3 separate regions of the Homo sapiens genome follow, and all the other regions are linked to region 3. The links are contacts of gene promoters, found by promoter capture Hi-C in human tissues and cell types (Jung and others, 2019). All regions are on one chromosome and are shown on one strand. The core of a region is centred on a gene start or on the middle of the fragment in contact, and the rest is flanking DNA. Distances in the headings are between cores, read along the strand shown.

What was found. Contacts are between HindIII fragments. The study calls those that stand out against the background at their distance.
Region 1: a fragment that was not itself captured here is called in contact with the fragment with the promoter of ZFP42 in region 3 in 1 of the 25 tissues and cell types used here (pancreas).
Region 2: a fragment that was not itself captured here is called in contact with the fragment with the promoter of ZFP42 in region 3 in 2 of the 25 tissues and cell types used here (pancreas and small bowel).

The regions. Positions count from the first base shown.
Region 1 is chr4:187,952,248-187,956,105 of GRCh38, reverse strand. The region is part of intron 2 of LOC124900881 (a long non-coding RNA gene); the gene reads left to right. Among named protein-coding and RNA genes, the nearest start is that of ZFP42, 42 kb to the left of the region's middle. The HindIII fragment of the contact is 8,612 bases long and covers 1-3,858 here.
Region 2 is chr4:188,037,230-188,040,850 of GRCh38, reverse strand. No RefSeq gene overlaps it. Among named protein-coding and RNA genes, the nearest start is that of ZFP42, 43 kb to the right of the region's middle. The HindIII fragment of the contact is 5,516 bases long and covers 1-3,621 here.
Region 3 is chr4:187,993,940-187,997,440 of GRCh38, reverse strand. It overlaps ZFP42 (ZFP42 zinc finger protein), which reads right to left and starts at 1,670. Exons shown (of 4, transcript NM_174900.5): 1 at 1,601-1,670. RefSeq lists enhancers at 612-906, 521-1,502, 1,503-2,482. The HindIII fragment of the contact is 6,716 bases long and covers 1-3,049 here.

The DNA.
Region 1 (3,858 bases), core at 1,180-3,679, 42 kb after region 3:
TGGTTGTACTAGTTTACAGTCCCACCAACAGTGTAAAAGTGTTCCTATTTCTCCACATCCTCTCCAGCACCTGTGGTTTCCTGACTTTTTAATGATCACCATTCTAACTGGTGTGAGATGGTATCTCATTGTGGTTTTGATTTGCATTTCTCTGATGGCCAGTGATGGTGAGCATTTTTTCATATGTCTGTTGGCTGCATAAATGTCTTCTTTTGCGAAGTGTCTGTTCATATCCTTTGCCTACTTGTTGATGGGGTTGATTTTTTCTTGTAAATTTGTTTAAGTTCTTTTTAGATTCTGGATATTAGTCCTTTGTCTGATGGGTAGATTGTAAAAATTTTCTCCCATTCTGTAGGCTGCCTGCTCACTCTGATGGTAGTTTCTTTTGCTGTGCAGAAGCTCTTTAGTTTAATTAGATCCCATTTGTCGATTTTGGCTTTTGGTGTTTTAGACATGAAGTCCTTGCCATGCCTATGTCCTGAGTGGTATTGCCTAGGTTTTCTTCTAGGGTTTTTATGGTTTTAGGTCTAACATTTAAGTCTTTACTCCATCTTGAAATAATTTTTGTATAAGCTGTAAGGAAGGGATCCAGTTTCAGCTTTCTACATATGGCTAGCCAGTTTTCCCAGCACCATTTATTAAATAAGGAATCCTTTCCCCATTTCTTGTTTTTGTCAGGTTTGTCAAAGATCAGATGGTTGTAGATGTGTGGTGTTATTTCTGAGGCCTCTGTTCTGTTCCATTGGTCTATCTCTCTGTTTTGGTACCAGTACCAGGCTGTTTTGGTTACTGTAGCCTTGTAGCATAGTTTGAAGTCAGGTAGCGTGATGCCTCCAGCTTTGTTCTTTTGGCTTAGGATTGTCTTGGCAATGTGGGCTCTTTTTTGGTTCCGTATGAACTTTAAAGTAGTTTTTTTCAATTCTGTGAAGAAAGTCATTGGTAGCTTGATGGGGATGGCATTGAATCTATAAATTACCTTGGGCACTATGGCCATTTTCACGATATTGAGTCTTCCTATCCAAGAGCATGGAATGTTCTTCTATTTGTTTGTGTCCTCTTTTATTTCGTTGAGCAGTGGTTTGTAGTGCTCCTTGAAGAAGTCCTTCACATCCCTTGTAAGTTGGATTCCTAGGTATTTTATTCTCTTTATAGCGATTGTGAATGGGAGTTTACTCATGATTTGGCTCCCTGTCTGTTATTGGTGTATAGGAATGCTTGTGATTTTTGCACATTGATTTTGTATCCTGAGACTTTGCTGAAGTTGCTTATCAGCTTAAGGAGATTTTGGGTTGAGACGATGGGGTTTCTAAATACACAATCACCTCTGCATCAAATCTCCTTCTGACTTTCTCTTATAAGGACAACTGTCATTGGATTTAAGATCCACCTGGATAATCCAGGATGATATGATCTTGAAATCCTTAATTGCATCATCAGACTCTTTTCCCAACAAAAGTCACGTCCACAGGTTCTAGCAGTTAGGACATGGACATATCCTCTGAGTGGCCATCATTCAACTCATTACACTTTCTCAGAGGGCCATTATGAGGATTAAATAAAATAGTTCATGTAAAAATGCTTCACATAGTCCCTGAGGTGTAGAGATTTTCCAATAAATAATAGTTATTATTTTTACAGGAGCTCGAAACAAACAAACAAAACTAGCCAGGTGTTGTGGCATATGCCTGTAGTCTCAGCTACTCAGGACGTTGAGGTGGGAGGTAAAAGTAAAAAAATTAAATAGTAAAAGGAAAGGTCCTACCAGAGATTAGAATATGCTGCAAGACAAACATAATTAAAATACTGCAGCATTGGTACAAAAATTAATAAATAAATGAAAGGAAGACAATAGAAAGTCTAGAAGAAAATTGGTATAGACCTATACATTTTGGCAGCTGTTACGCATTATATTTCAAGTCAATAAGGAAAGGTTATGATTGAGACTACTGGTTATCAATTGACACAAACAAAAAATTAAGGGTAGATTCCCACCTCAAACCAGAAAAACTACAGATGAATTATAGAGATAAAAATAGATTACAAAATTATAACAATGTTAAAGGAAATTTCATGAGAATAGAAAATATTTTTAATCTCAACATTGGAAAAATCTATGCTAAACATAGGCTAAGAATTCATAAAGAAAAAAATGACAGATATGTCTATATAAAAATCTAAAGCATCTATGTCAAAAACCCACATGAAAAAGTACAATGAAAAATCATGGGAAAATTATTTACAATACAGCATTAATCTCTATGATAATATCAAGCACATAAAGATCAATAAAAGATAACAAATCTGATAGAAAACATGTAATGACAGAAAATTATACTTAGTATCACATAAAACTAGTTAATAAGGCAGATTAAATTAAGACAAATGTAATTTTTATTCATGAGATGAGGACAAATGAAAAAGACTGATAATATTCAGCATGGAGGAAGAGGTAAGAGAATAGGAACTTTCAAAAACTGATAGTGGGAATTCAAATTTCAGGGCTTTTTTGGTGGGGCATTTGCAAGTATATGTCAGATTTAAATATAATGTAACCTTTCACCCAGTAATTTTACGTATGAGTAGGGAGAAAGAGCACATATTATGTACAAAGGATATTCATTATAGTCACATGTATATACAAAGATTAATGTAAAATAGTATTCTTTAACAGTGAAGAATTGGATTTAACAAAAATATATACTGTCTGAAGGCTGGGGGCGGTGGCTCACTCCTGTAATCCCAGCACTTTGGGAGGCCGAGGCAGGCAGATCACTTGAGGTCAAGAGTTCGAGACCAGCCTGGCCGGCGTGGCGAAACCCCATCTCTACTAAAAATAAAAATTAGCTGGGCATGGTGGCAGAAGCCTGTAATCCCAGCTACTTGGGAGGCTGAGGCAGGAGAATCACTTGAACTTGAGGAAGAGGCTGCAATGAGCTGAGATCATGCCACTGCACTCCAGCTTGGGTGACAGAGCGAGACTCTATCTCAAAAAAAAAATTATGGTACACATGATATGTAATACACCACAGCAATTAAAAAGACCGAGGCAGATATATATGTGTGTGTGTGTGTGTGTGTGTGTGTATAAAATGCATATATATAATGCATATATATATGTATTGACATAAAAAGTTTTCACAGATAAGTGGAAAAAAGGCAGGTCATTTAATAGGATATGATCACATTTTTGGAAAAAGCAGCATTTTATATTTGAACTGTGTGTGTGTGTGTGTGTGTGTGTGTGTGTGCTGATGTCTAGGAAAATGTTTGGAAAGCACAAACAGTGCTCACATATGGTCAGGGAAGTGGAATCGAAAGAAGATATGGAAGGAAAGAAAGTGTAACTGGGTGCTCAAGGAGGTTATTTTAACTTAAAAAAATCTAGACGTTAAATATTTGATATAAATATATATATTATTCTCCCATAGAATGTATTTATATCAAACTATTATGTAAAATACATTTTTAAAAGTGAAAAATCTGTCATGTGAGTTCTTATTGTTTTTGTGATCATTTTTCATGTAACTAGTATCTCCTCAGCATCACTATTTTAGGGCTACCCTTTCTTTTGGGTATTATGTAATCTTAGGTGTAATCTTATGTAATTTTGGGTATTATGTAATCTTAGAGGGGGCATGGGGGAAGCCCATCCCTGACAAAAATTACATCCTTGCTCACAACAGTATAGTATTTAATGAACCACACAGAGTTGGACGTTTTTGCTAGTTTCAACTTTATTGTTATAAAGGACACTTAGCTTGAATGGTGTGGACAAGTCAAAACTACTAAGAACAGAGAGAAAGAAAATGTTCTGGAAGGTGAAGCCACTGTTTGTACACATTGCCTTGCTGTAGGCTT
Region 2 (3,621 bases), core at 866-3,365, 43 kb before region 3:
CTCTGCCTCCCGAGTTCAAGTGATTCTCCTGTCTCAGCCTCTCGAGTAGCTGGGATTACAGGAGCCCGCCACCACGCCCAGCTAATTTTTCTACTTTTTTTTTTTTTTTAAATAGAGACGGGGTTTCGCCATGTTGGCCAGGCTGGTCTCAAATTCCTGACCTCAAGTGATCCGCCTGCCTCGACCTCCCAAAGTGCTGGGATTACAGGCGTAAACCACGGCGCCCAGCCTACAAATTTCTCTGTAGAGACAGGGATCTTTCTATGTTGCCCAGACTGGTCTCAGACTCCTGAGCTCAAGCAGTCCTCCCACCTAAGCCTCCCAAAGTGCTGGGGTTACAGACATAAACCATCTCGCCAAACCTAATGCATATTTGTTGAACAAATTATCAGTTAACAACTGTTAGCATTTACTTTCTTCATTTAGAGGTATAATGGAAATATCTCAGATAAAAATGTTTATATGTAGGCAGTAGGCAGGTTTTTTTTTTTTTTTTTTTTTTTGGTAATTGCTGTATAAAAAGAACCCTGTAATACACAGAAAATCTAGCATATGAATAGTGAAGAAGAGACAAATCTCCCATAGGGAATTCCAAATAATGTATGTAAATATTTCCCCCCTCGATGAGGTGGAGCTGAATTCCTCTCTACCCTAAGTGTAGGTGATGCCAGCAGCTTGTTTCAAGACTATGGAAAAGAGGTGGAGGAGTGGTAATTTTTCAGGGGGAAGCCTGACAAGCAGTCCTCAGCCAGGCAGTCAAGGTGTTAATTGCATCAGGGAAGAGTCAGGTTGATGGCATGCACCCGGATATGATATGGTAAGAATCATATCATATTCAGGCCGGGCGCGGTGGCTCATGCCTGTAATCCCAGCACTTTGGGAGGCCGAGGCAGGCGGATCACAAGGTCAGGAGTTCGAGACCAGCCTGGCCAACATAGTGATACCCCATCTCTACTAAAAATACAAAAACTAGCTGGGCGTGGTGGTCCACAGCTACTCCAGAGGCTGAGGCAGGAGAATCACTTGAACCCAGGAGGTGGAGGTTACAGTGAGCTGAGGTGGCGCCATTGCACTCCAGCCTGGCGACAGAGCGAGACTCCGTCTCAAAAAAAAAAAAAAAGAATGCTACTTCAGTGTTGTGATATTCTCCCCAATCACCCATAACCTCAGTCTATTCATAAAAACATCAAACCAAGATGGAAGAACTTTGTATAGGGGCCTGGCCAGTACTCCTGAAACTGCCAGGGTTATCAAAATGGGAAGTCTGAGAAATTGTCATAAACTAGAGGAATGTAAGGAGACACATATCTAAATGTAATGTGGGATCCTGATGGCCTCCTGGAACAGAAAAAGGATAGAAGGGAAGACTAGTAAAATGAAATAAAGTGTGGGGTTTAGTCAATAATAATACGTCAGTGTTGGTCTTGAGTTGTAACAAATATACCATCATAATGTACAACGTTAACAATGCAGGAAATTGGGAGTGAGGGTGTGTTATCTTTTCATCTTTGCTGTAAATCTAAAACTTTTCTAAAATTAAAAGTTCATTTAAAATTTAGAAACTATTTTAGGAAAACAGAGAAGGCAATAAAAATAATAAAACAAATTAAGAAACGATCACAGCTTACAAACGAAGAAAAAGAGTTGAGACAGTTTACATCCTGTAGAAGTGAGAGGAAGTGAATATTAAAAGAATAAATGATGCCTTGAGCTTTACTTACACAGTGAGATAGAAGTCCATCTTAAATTAAGAAAAGTTGGCTGGATGCGGTGGCTCACGCCTGTAATCCCAGCACTTTGGGAGGCTGAGGTGGGCAAATCAGGAGGTCCAGCGATCAAGACCATCCTGGCCAACATGGTGAAACCCTGTCTCTACTAAAAATACAAAAAATTAGCCGGGCATGGTGGCACGTGCCTGTAATCCCAGTGACTCATGAGGCTGAGGCAGGAGAGTCGCTTGAACCCAGGAGGCGGAGGTTGCAGTGAACTGAGATCGTGTCACTGCTCTCCAGCCTGGCAACAGAGCGAGACTCTGTCTCAAAAAAAAAAAAGAAAGAAAGAAAAGTCATAGAAAGATTAGAGAATGTGATCTATTTAGAGAAACAGGTCAGAATTGAAAATGCAGCCACATTTTCCTGTTACGAGAACTTTCCAAGAGGTTATGAAACAATGAAGGAGTGTAAACTGATCTCAATTGACCAAAGTTAAGTGAGCAGGCTGGAGCCTGGGTAGCTGGGGGCTTGGTATGAGAGGGAGATTTGCTTTGCATTGTAAATCATTTTGTTTTTCTACTTTTGTAATGGGTGCATGCATGTATTACCTACTCTTAGAAATTAATTAACAGTTGGCTCTGTTTAGAAAAAACAAACATAGCTAAAACCCTACATGTGGGTGAAAATCTGCTTCTCTCAACCAGAAATGACAAGATTAAACCTCGTAAGCTATACAAGCAGTGGCCAGGTAAAGTAAGCTAGAGGGCGGATGCCTTTTCACGCCTGGCAGAATTTTAAAATTGAGGCTACTTCAACATCTGAATCATGCCAAATAATATAACCAGGGTTAAAAAGAAAAACCTGCTACAGTCTAAAATCTTTTTATCATGAGTATTAAATATTAGCAAAACAAAAAGGCAATTTGATAGTATTAATCCCAGCACTTTGGGAGGCCAACGCGAGCAGATCACCTGAGGTCAGGAGTTTGAGACCAGCCTGGCCAACATGGCAAAAACCCATCTCTACTAAAAATACAAAAATTTAGCCGGGCGTGGTGGTGGGTGCCTGTAGTCCCAGCTACTCAGGAGGCTGAGGTAGGAGAATCGCTTGAACCTGGGAGGCGGAGGTTGCAGTGAGCTGAGATCACGCCACTGCACTCCAGCCTGGCTACAGAGTGAGACTCAGTCTCAAAAAAAAAAAAAATTCTTATCATAAACCTCTAACCTCTCATGACTATTAGCCCATGAGAAAAATCAGAAAATCTCGTAGAAATTTAATCAACCTAAAGGTTAAAAGTTTCTTTTCTTTTTTGTTAAGCTTATCTTTTCTTTTTACTTTTTTTCTTTTTTTTTTTTTCTTTTTTTTTTTTTTTTTTTTTTTTGAGACAGGGTCTTGCTGTGTCACCCAGGCTGGAGGGCTTATTGCAGCCTCGACCTTCTGGGCTCAAGCAATCTTCCCACCTTCGCCTCCTGAGTAGCTGAGACTACAGGCATGCGCCACCACATCCACCTAGTATTTTATTTTTTTAAATATATTTTTTACTTTTGTAAAAACAGTCTCTCACTATGTTGCCCAGGCTCATCTCAAACTTCTGGGCTCAAGTAATTGGCCCGCCTCGGCCTCCCAAAGTGCTGAGATTACAGGCATGAGTCATTGCGCTTGGCAAAGTTAAAAGTTGTGCCAGGAAACTTATTTTTGGAGTATTTTGAAGAAAATTTTCGACATTTCATATCATGAAGAACTATTTTATTTATCTAATAGATAAGGAAAATTCGGAAACATGATCACAATGCCATCATCACATCTAAAAAATGTATAATAATTCACTTCAAACGATTTTTTCTATAAATATTTTTACCATTAATTTTTTTTCTTTGTAGCACACTCATGTATTCTTGGAGAGTATAAA
Region 3 (3,501 bases), core at 421-2,920:
CCTGGCCAACATGGTGAAACCCTATTAAAAATAAAAAAAATTAGTCGGGCGTGGTGGCGGGCGCCTGTAGTCCCAGCTACTCGGGAGGCCGAGGCAGGAGAATCGCTTGAACCTAGGAGGCGGAGGTTGCAGTGAGCCGAGATCGTGCCACTGCACTCCAGCCCAAGCGACAAGAGCAAAACTCTGTCTCAAAAAAAAAAAAAAAAAAAAAAGAATATGAGAGGGGAAGTAACCGAGGACGCCACCTTCATCATGAATGTCTGGAAAAGGCCCCCAAGGAGGGGGCCATCGGAGCCAGATGTGGGCAGGAGGAAAAGTGCACGGGGGTGGGAAGAGACGAGCGAAGCCTGCTGGTTCCAGGCTGCCGGCGCTCCCCGGGGGCTGCAGGCCATGCTCCATGCTCCACGCTCCATGCTCCATGCTCCACGCTCCACGCTCCATGCTCCATGCTCCCTACAGCTATGGCGGGCAGGAAGGTGGGGGCTGGGGCGAGGCCCAGGCGCGGGGCTGACGGTGAGCCCCGGGACCATTTGCATTTCATCCCAGGTCCCAAGGAAACCATTACAGGGCTTCCAACAAGCAAACAGCAAGTTTTTTTAGGTTAGAAGATGGGCCGGACAGCTGCATGGAGAATGGATTTGGGGAGAACAGAAAAATCTATTAGATTTGGGAATCCCGCGAAGGGCTGCCAGGGGTTTGGAGCAGATGGCGGCAGAGGAGATGAAATGCAGGGAGAGCGGGAAAACAGGAGAAAGAACCACCCCCTCGCCCTGCAGCTCGCCGGTGGATTGGATGAAGAGCGGAAGGGAAACAGGAATCAAGAATGAGTCTCGCCCGGCGCGGTGGCTCACGCCTGTAATCTCAGCACTTTGGGAGGCTGAGGCGGGCGGATCATCTGAGGTCACGAGTTCGAGACCAGCCTGACCAACATGGTGAAACCCCGTCTCTACTAAAATACAAAAATTAGCCGGGCGCAGTGAAGGGCGCCTGTAATCTCAGCTACTTGGGAGGCTGAGGCAGGAGAATCCCTTGAACCCGGGAGACGGAGGTTGCAGTGAGCCGAGATCGCGCCATTGCACTCCAGCCTGGCAACAGAGCGAGACTGTCTCCAAAAAAAAAGAAAAAAGAAAAGAAAGAGTCTCCTAGGTTTTTTGCTAGAGTAATTTGAGTTGGGGGTATTGCCATCTCCAGAGATAAGAGGAGAGGAAAAGAAAGGGAAGAGACTGGTGTCTTGATCACAATGTAAGCATGTTAATATAGAAAAGACTTAGCCAGATATTGTAAGGAAACATATTTACATGAAGTTTTGAAATAAAATAAAAAATGCAATTTAGGAAATCACCGCCAGACACTTGCTTTCTTGAGAGTGTATTACTTGCCCATCTGCCCGTTTTCAACATTTGAGGCCAGTGGCCAGCCACGGGTCACCGCAGGGCGAGGGCTACAAGTCTCCCGGCGAGGCCGGCTCCGGCCTGGTCCCAGGATGAGAACACGCTTCCCCTCCCTGACTATCTAACCCCTTTGACCGACACATTCCAAGTAGTGAGCAACACAACCCCCTTCTCCCCATTTGAAAAAAGTTCCATGAAACAAGACTCACCCCTGTTACCGCGAAGCACTCTGCTATTTCCAATGCCACCTCCTCCCAAACGTAAAACAAAGGAGAAACTGCAGTGGAAACGTGGACTGCCCTGCGCCCCCTCCCAAGACCCACCCTCCGGACTGACGCGGTCTAATCAGGCTACAGCCACCCATCAGCTCCGCCAGGGTTAGGGAGGGCGTGGCCGGCCCCGCCCTGGGGCGCCGCCCTGGAGCCACCTGGCCCGCGCGTTCACTCTCTGCCCGGAGCCGCCTGGCACCTGGGCGGCGCGCTCACCCTCAGCCCGGGGCCCCCAGGCACCCGGCCCGCACGCAAACCCTCAGCCCGGGGCCCCCTGACCCCCGCGTTCACCCCTCAGCCCGGCCGCCGGGCACTGCGCATCCGCCACGTGGCAGCGCCTCCAGAGCCCAGACGCCCGGCGTTGGCACGTGGTGAGCGCTCAATAAATGTCTGTTGAACAAATACGCGTGGGTGTAATCACATTTACCCTTTTAGGCCGGACGCGGTGGCTCACGCCTGTCGTCCCAGCACTTTGGGAGGCCGAGACGGGGGGATCACATGAGGTCAAGCGTTCGAGACCAGCCTGGCCAACATGGCGAAACCCCGTCTCTACCGAAAAATACAAAAATTAGCCAGGCATGGTGGTGCTCGCCTGTAATCCCAGCTACTCAGGAGGCTGAGGCAGGAGAATCGCTTGAACCCGGGATGCGGAGGTTGCAGTGAGCCGAGATCGCGCCACTAAGCTCCAGCCTGGGTGATAGAGCGAGGCTCCATCTCAATAGAACAAAACAAAACATTTACGCTTTTGCAGATCGAGGAAAAAAATCAAGCGGAGGAGGCAGTTTTTACCCCCCGAAATAGAGGTTGACTCGAACGCAAACCCCCACACCTTTCCCACCCCACCCTACCCCCAGTTGTTTCAAACACCCCCAGTGTTTGTTTTCTTTTTTCTTTTTCTGGCCATTAATGTGACTGTATTGCTAAAGGCAACACAACTCACTTTGAAAGCAATGGTCAGTCAACGCTCACTATTGGCTACAGTCTAGTGAAATGTAATAGGTCGTATAAGTACACCCAGACCATTAGAACGAAACCCAGATCGATATTTAAAAACCTCCTAAATGTTGACTTGAAGCTTTTCTGCATATATATCTGGGAGCAGTTCTCCACTTTTTTCTTTTTTTAAATCTGTTTCTGAATAAGCTTCAATTTTGAGGTTGGCCAATAAAATATAATTTTCCTTCCTTCCTTCCTTCCTTCCTTCCTTCCTTCCTTCCTTCCTTCCTTCCTTCCTTTCTTTTCTTTCTCTTTTTTTTTCTTTTTTGAGACGGAGTCTTTCTCTGTCCCCCAGGCTGGAGTGCAGTGGCACCGTCTCACCTCACTGCAACCTCCGCCTATTTGGTTCAAGTGATTCTCCTGCCTCAGCCTCCCCAGTAGCTGGGATTACAGGCATGCACCACCACGCACGGCTAATTTAGTATTTTTAGTAGAGACAGGGTTTCTCCATGTTGGCAGGCTGGTCCGACCTCAGGTGATCCGCCTGTCTCGGCCTCCCAAAGTGTTGGGATTACAGGCGTGAGCCACTGCGCCTGGCCAATAGGATATAATTTTCAATGAAGGAAATATTTATTATTCCCTGATCTCCTCCAGTAGGCATAGCAGGACCTCTCCATTTGAAATCCGATTTCAATAAAGCTTCCTTAGTTCCTTACCTTAGAATGTATTATTTGCAGACGAGGGTCAGAAAGCCGATTTACCAGTCAGAAGGACTTCCCTCAACTTCCCTCCTTCTGTCTCTATGGCGCCTTGCTGTGGCCTCTTTAGAAACTACAGGGGAATTCCACCAGCCTTTTTTTTTGTTTCCCTTGGAGATAAAAATGTTAACATTTGGGTTTCGATAA